2 separate regions of the Homo sapiens genome follow, and region 1 is linked to region 2. Evidence: promoter capture Hi-C in 16 types of primary human blood cells and fetal thymus (Javierre and others, 2016). All regions are on one chromosome and are shown on one strand. Each heading gives the region's core, a stretch centred on a gene start or on the middle of the fragment in contact. The rest is flanking DNA. Distances are from core to core; before and after follow the strand shown.

The links. Contacts are between HindIII fragments. The CHiCAGO score rates a contact against its expected background, and 5 or more counts as called.
Region 1: a fragment that was not itself captured here is called in contact with the fragment with the promoter of RHOA in region 2 in 1 of 17 cell types (fetal thymus); the score reaches 5.2 in fetal thymus.

The regions. Positions count from the first base shown.
Region 1 is chr3:48,713,782-48,717,106 of GRCh38, reverse strand. All of the region lies in intron 1 of IP6K2 (inositol hexakisphosphate kinase 2), which reads left to right. Among named protein-coding and RNA genes, the nearest start is that of IP6K2, 1.8 kb to the left of the region's middle. The HindIII fragment of the contact is 517 bases long and covers 1,065-1,581 here.
Region 2 is chr3:49,410,149-49,413,343 of GRCh38, reverse strand. RHOA (ras homolog family member A) reads left to right here and starts at 1,368. Exons shown (of 5, transcript NM_001664.4): 1 at 1,368-1,524. TCTA (T cell leukemia translocation altered) reads right to left here and starts at 921. Exons shown (of 3, transcript NM_022171.3): 1 at 704-921; 2 at 234-288. The coding sequence starts at 917. RefSeq lists enhancers at 709-1,118, 1,054-1,348, 1,247-2,221 and silencers at 1,189-1,488, 1,549-1,828, 1,839-1,928. The HindIII fragment of the contact is 2,031 bases long and covers 115-2,145 here.

The sequences.
Region 1 (3,325 bases), core at 74-2,573, 700 kb after region 2:
TTTTTCAGGCTACTGGGAAACGGGATCTCTGATCATTGGAGTCTCCCAGGTTATTTGGGAAAGACTTCTTCCGTGGTCATTGTGGGGGAAATCTCCCGGGGTCCCTGTGGATTCGATTTCCCTGGGTCATTTGGGAGGAGGGTTTTTCTTCTGATCATTGGGGGAGGGATTTCCGTGGTTTTGGGGGTCCAGCATCCTCCCCGGTCATTGGAGGGGGTCTCCCGGGTTTGGGGGAGGGCAGGATCTTTCCTGGTCATTGAGATCTCCCCGGGTCTTGGGAAGCGCAAGATCTACGGTGTCATTGAGGGGTCTCCCCAGGTCATTGGCGGCCACGATCTCCCCAGATATTTGGCGGGTGGAGGGGTCTTCCCGGATCTTTGGATAGGGAGTCAGCTCAGCGCCTCAGGTACTGTTACCTGGGGTCGGCAGATGTGCAGCCATTTTGAGTGTTGAATGCCATTTGGGCCCGTCAGATGGTGTTCGATGAGGGAATCTACACACTTAACCTTATTATAGAAAAAATGCCTTTAAATGGATAAGAGGACACCTTTATAGTGATATTTCCACTCTTTACGTTTGATTACAGACCGCTTTTGTCTTTTGCATCCTAATGGCTTATTTCATTTTAGGATTGTATTCGTTCTCATATATCAACTAAGCTACACTAGCAGAAAAGTGAGTGAAAATAAAATGTAGAAACCAGTAAAATCCAGTGCTCTTAAATACCAGGGAAAACAGAACTAGTCACTGCTTGGAATTAAACATTTCCGTAGCAGAATGTACACAGAACAAAAAATCATCTTGAATAGTTTTAAGAAAAAGTACTGGCACTTTGGAACGTGGTAACAAAAATGTTGTAGATCATCGGTTCTATGATATTTTTAATAGAGGACCATGATTACAGTAATTTTGTTGAATTCTAGTGTTTAAAATGTTTGCTGTATTTGCAGTTGTAGCCAGGTAATATTTTAAGTGAACTAAGATGCTTATTTATATAGGTTGTTGCTGTGGGGTTTGTATAATTGCATCGTGTAACTTGGGTGTTAAGTATTTAAAGAGAAGCTTCAGGGTGTTGTTTTAACTTTAGCCACTATCAGAGTTAGAAAGGGCCAAATGAATACTTTATCACATTTGACATAATAGGCAAATTGATGGCCTAGTAACTTTTTTTTTTTTTGAGAAAAAGTTAAACTGTTAACTGTCATTTAAAATTTTTTTTCTATTTTCTGTGGTCTTGTCTGACATTGTCATTTCGATAGATTTACCTGCTTTGTGACTTTAGAATTCACAGGCATTGTTAGAAATCAAATGGAGAATCACTTGAGCCCAGCAGTTCAAGATCAACCTGGGCAACATAGCAACACCCTGTCTCTACAAAAAAAAAAAAAAAAAGAGAGAGAGAGAAAGAAATGAAATGGATAAGAACACTGACTAGAGTTAATACAATTGTAGAAACTAGCTTTTTGTTTGTTTGGTTTGTTTTTTATGCAGGGCCTGGGTAGGGAGGGAGCAAGGCAGGGACCTGGGAGATCTAGAAATCAGTGTAACAGATATAATAGATTTCTTTTGTGTTTCAAAGCTTCCTAGGTGACAGACAGGTACACTGTATGCTAGCCCTGTATCTGTCTGAGCAGTGGAATGTGCCAGGAAAGAAGGAGCAACCACTGACTGATGAACCTTTGCCAGTCTCCCTTCCAAGAGGGATGCCAGAGCCTTCTGTAAGCTCCTGAGATGTCACTGGTATCTAGGCAACAGGGATGAGCCTGAACCTCCCTGAGGCCAGCTTACTGAGGTGAAAATTTTCCATTGTTTGGCTCATAAAGAGGATGCACTGGGGAAGAATTTTCCCTTTAAGTGAAGTTATTTCACCTAGTGGGATAATCTTGGGTAACAAATTGAACACACTCTTATACATTAGAAAGTAAGCAGATGATTATTCTCATGTTATTACATTTTAAAGCATGTTTTTGTTTTTTTAAATTATGTTTTTGCCTATTTGTGTACCATATAATAAAAGTAATAAGAAGTAGTTGTGTTTTACAGTATATTCTGGTGGCAAGGAAATGTCCTTCTCTCCAAAAATTGAGTTTAGAGCCCACTTCAGGATTTGGAGAAGTCAATTTGCCGAGATGATGCACAGTTGATTTGGGTCTGTCATCCATAACCAGCTTCAGTAGTTACTAATTCCTGGCCAATCTTGTTTCATCTACACTGTGCCTATCCCCATCACTGCCCTACTTTTTTTTTTTTTTTTTTTTTGAGACGGAGTCTCTCTCTGTCGCCCAGGCTGAAGTGCAGTGGTGCGATCTCGGCTCACTGCAAGCTCCGCCTTCCGGGTTCACGCCATTCTCCTGCCTCAGCCTGCCTCAGCCTCCGCGCCTGGCCTGCCCTACCTTTTAAAGAAAGAAAGGGCCAGGGCCAGGCTTGGTGGCTCATGCATGTAATCCCAGCACTTTGGGAGGCCAAGGCGGTTGGATCATGAGGTCAGGAGTTCAAGACCAGCCTGGCCAACCTGGTGAAACCCCGTCTCTACTAAAAATACAAAAACTAGCCAGCCTCTGTGGCAGGTGCCTGGAATCCCAGCTACTCAGGAGGCTGAAGCAAGAGAATCGTTTGAACCCAGGGGGTGGAGATTGCAGTGAGCCAAAATCACACCACTGCACTCCCGCCTGGGCGACAGAGTGAGACTCCATCTCAAAAAAACACACACACACACACACAAAAAAAAGGAAAAAGAAAGGGCCGAGCGTGGTGGCTCACGCCAGTAACACCAACGCTTCGGGAGGCCGAGGTGGGCAGATCACTTGAGGTCAGGAGTTTGAGACCAGTCTGGCCAACATGGTGAAACCCTGTCTCTACTAAAAATACAAAAATTAGCTGGGTGTGGTGGCAGGATCCTCTGTCTCAAAAAAACAAAACTAAACAAATTTCTGGGATATGCTCCCTTTAAGATTCAGGGGTTTTTTGTTTTGTTTTGTTTTGTTTTTAATGAGACGGAGTCTCGCTCTGTCACCCAGGCTGGAGTGCAGTGGCCAGATCTCAGCTCACTACAACCTTCGCCTCTCAGGTTCAACCGATTCTCCTGCCTCAGCCTCCCTAGTAGCTGGGACTACAGGCATGTGCCACCGCACCTGGCTAATTTTTGTATTTTTAGTAGAGACGGGGTTTCACCATGTTGGCCAGGCTGGCCTCGAACTCCTGACCTTAGGTGATCCACCCACCTCGGCCTCCCAAAGTGTTGGGATTACAGGCGTGAGCCACTGCACCGCACCTGGCCTTTTTCTTTCTTTTTTGTATTACTATTTTTTTTTTTTTTTTGAAAAAA
Region 2 (3,195 bases), core at 119-2,618:
TTATGACAATACCACCACCTATCCTACAGGCTGCTGAACAGCATGATGATGGACTGTCCAGACCTTGGTGTCACCCTAACTTGAAGCCTGAGCTCTACGTGCAGACTTGAAGCTTGCTGCAAAGGCCATTAAGCTGGTGGGCTTAAAGCCTGAGAACTCCCCTCTCTGTCACCAGCACAGGAGTGTCCTTGGAATGCCAAGCATGGGGTTGCGGTATGGACAGATTTACTCACCACGAAGGGAAATGCGTGGAGCCATCAGGCGTGGATCCATTCTGACCACCCAGACCTGGAGGCAGAAACACATCCAGAGCTGCAGAAGGCTGGGGTGGGAATCTGAGCAGGCATCAGCCCAGGTCAGGTTAGAGACCACTGGTATTGTTTGGTGAAGTCTGGTGAGGGTCCTAAGGGACTAATGGTATTGCCAGGTGAGAGTTCTGAGGAACAGATACAATGTGATGGGTGGACTGGTGGGGATTCTGGCGTAAAATGGTATGGTGGCATGAGTCAGGGCACAACGTTAAGTTCTCCCATCCAAGTACCTGGCTTAGCTTCCGAGGTCAGATGCGTTCAGGGTAGTAAGGCCGTGAACCAATGTTAAGTTCTGATGAGCCTCTTGCAGGATAGTGGGGAACCCAATGGTACAGTCGGGAGAGGGTGGGGGCGGGGGCGGCCAGCCCACGGAGGTTCGTAGGAAGCCTCACCTGGACGGTGATACAACCCGGTCACTGTATTCCCGTAGAACCCCCACGCCAGCTGGATGCCCAGGAGACTTAACACCAACCACAGCAGCAGCAGCTTGAAGAGGGTCACGCGCATGTCCTGCGCCTCCCACTCCCGCAAGAACTCGCTGCCCAGCGCGCCCAGCACCGTGGCCGGCAGAGCCTGCAAGGCCTGCCCAGACCAGGACTCCGCCATGACTGGCCCTCGCCCCACCCGGGGTACTGTCACCGTAGTCCCCACCACGCACGCGTGTGGTCTTCCGGGACCAGGCCCGTTAGTGCGCACGCGTAAACCCAGCCAGGGTGGGGCCTACTTCGCGTGCGTGAAGAGTTGGCAGTTCGGGGAGGAGTATTAAAACCGCGCACGCGCACCTAACCCCACCCTGCTTGCTTAAGGGATGAGTGACTCCGGGAGTACAAAATAGCAACCAGGTCTTTTATAGCCCCGGAGTTCCCGTGATGCCCCACGCGGCTGCAATGATTGGTTAAGGGTTTTGCTTTTAGGGCGTGGACGGGCTCCTGAGCAATAGTGGATGAGCTGTGAGTGCGCGCGCGTGCGCGGGGCCGCGACCTGTGCCGGCTCGAGCCCGCTGGGCACTCGGAGGCGCGCACGTCGTTCCCCGCCCTCCCGCCGCCGCCCGCCCTCGCTCTCTCGCGCTACCCTCCCGCCGCCCGCGGTCCTCCGTCGGTTCTCTCGTTAGTCCACGGTCTGGTCTTCAGCTACCCGCCTTCGTCTCCGAGTTTGCGACTCGCGGACCGGCGTCCCCGGCGCGAAGAGGCTGGACTCGGATTCGTTGCCTGAGGTGAGCGGAAGGGTTCCCTCCAGGCGCCGCGGGGCCCCAGGCCCGCCAGCCCGGTACTCTTCCGGCCGGCAGGCCGCCGCACCGCCGCGGCCGCGCCCCACCGGCTGCTCGTGGCCGAGCCGCCCCTGGCCCCTGACCCTTGACCTGACTCCCAGCCCGGGCCCCGCGCCCCAAGCGGCGACCCCGCCCGCGCAGTCCCCGGAAGCGCGCCCGGTAGTCTCCTGTGCCCCTTCCCCCGCCCGGCCGGGCCTGGTGGAGCCCAGGCTGCCCGCCTGCCCGCCCTCGGTCCCCGGAGCTTCCTCTCCCAGCGGCGCCGGGCAGGGCGGGGGCTTTGGGCCGGGCCCCGCGACCGCGCAGTGTAGCCGGCCGCTGAAAGCGCGCGTGGCTGTCGGAGTTGAAATGGGAAAGAAACTCTTTACAACTCCATTTTGCTTTTTACGTTTAACGAGAAACGACAATCACTGTTTCATATTGATTAAAGTCCAGTTACACTTTGGGTAGGTTTTCTTTTAATGCAGACTTGTTGGAGACTGTGTAAGTAAGTAAAAGATTGTATTGAACGCTTAGGGGTATGATCTACGGCCATACCACCTGGAACGCGCCCGAACTCGTCTGAAAGCTTTGGGGTCTGTTTTGAGTGGAAAAGGGGTATTTTCCATTTGGAAAAAAAAAACAACACACAAAACTGTAAATGATTTAAGCGATGTTGCATGAAAATAGATGCAATGTTGCTTAGTCGAAGTCGCTGTATTGATTAGGAATGATCTAAATATCTGTACCTTAGTTACTGATTGGATCTACAGTTACGGGTCGTCTTCATTGAATAGCGCTATTCGCATCCAAGTTGATTTGTTCACAAACCTTGTTTAGTAGTTTACGGTGGAAAATTGGAATCCTTTTTACCTCAAAGTTGGTTCCACTTGTGTTTTTTAATAGTTCTGATTTTAAATTTTTACCTCTGTTGTTGACTTGTTTGGTTCTGTCTTGAAGAAAGTCTTAAACGTTTCTTGCAGGTGTGTAAGTAGATATTTCACTCTGCCTTTCTGAAGGAGAAAAATTGAAAAACCAAAAAACTTCCATAATTTAAAATGTTGTATGTGGAGAGAATTTTTCAACCACTTAGTATCACCCAGATGTGTAATGTGTACCATGCGGATGATTGTCACCTTAGATGTGGCTAGATTGGCGGAGATACTGTTTTGAGCATTTGGCACAAGTGACATTGGACTGAAAAACTAGTTTTTAATTGTAAAGAATGACTTATTGAAGGATCTCTGGATAACTTGTCTTAATTGGTTCCATCTACTTTTGTGGAGCACTGATGGCTCTTGGGGACATTAAATATATAAGGTGCACCTTGGTTTGAGTTAAAGTCTAGTGCTAGATTTATCCTCTCTGTTCTCATAAAAATCTGTGTTGGAGGGAAGAAGAGAGTAGGAATACTGTGTAGTTCTTGAGTTTTAGATCTAAGAGGAATCTTTCAGGACTGGTTGTCCAACCCCATTTGCAGATGAGCAAACTGAGTCCCAGAGACTTAAGTAAATTTCCCAAGGTTACCTATCTAGTCAGGAGCAGACCAGAACTGTCTGCTCTGTTAAGGTATTCTCCATTTACTCCCAAGCAGTTGGCCTCCAGAGTCAGCTAAAATTCAGGACTTCTAGCTTATTCCAT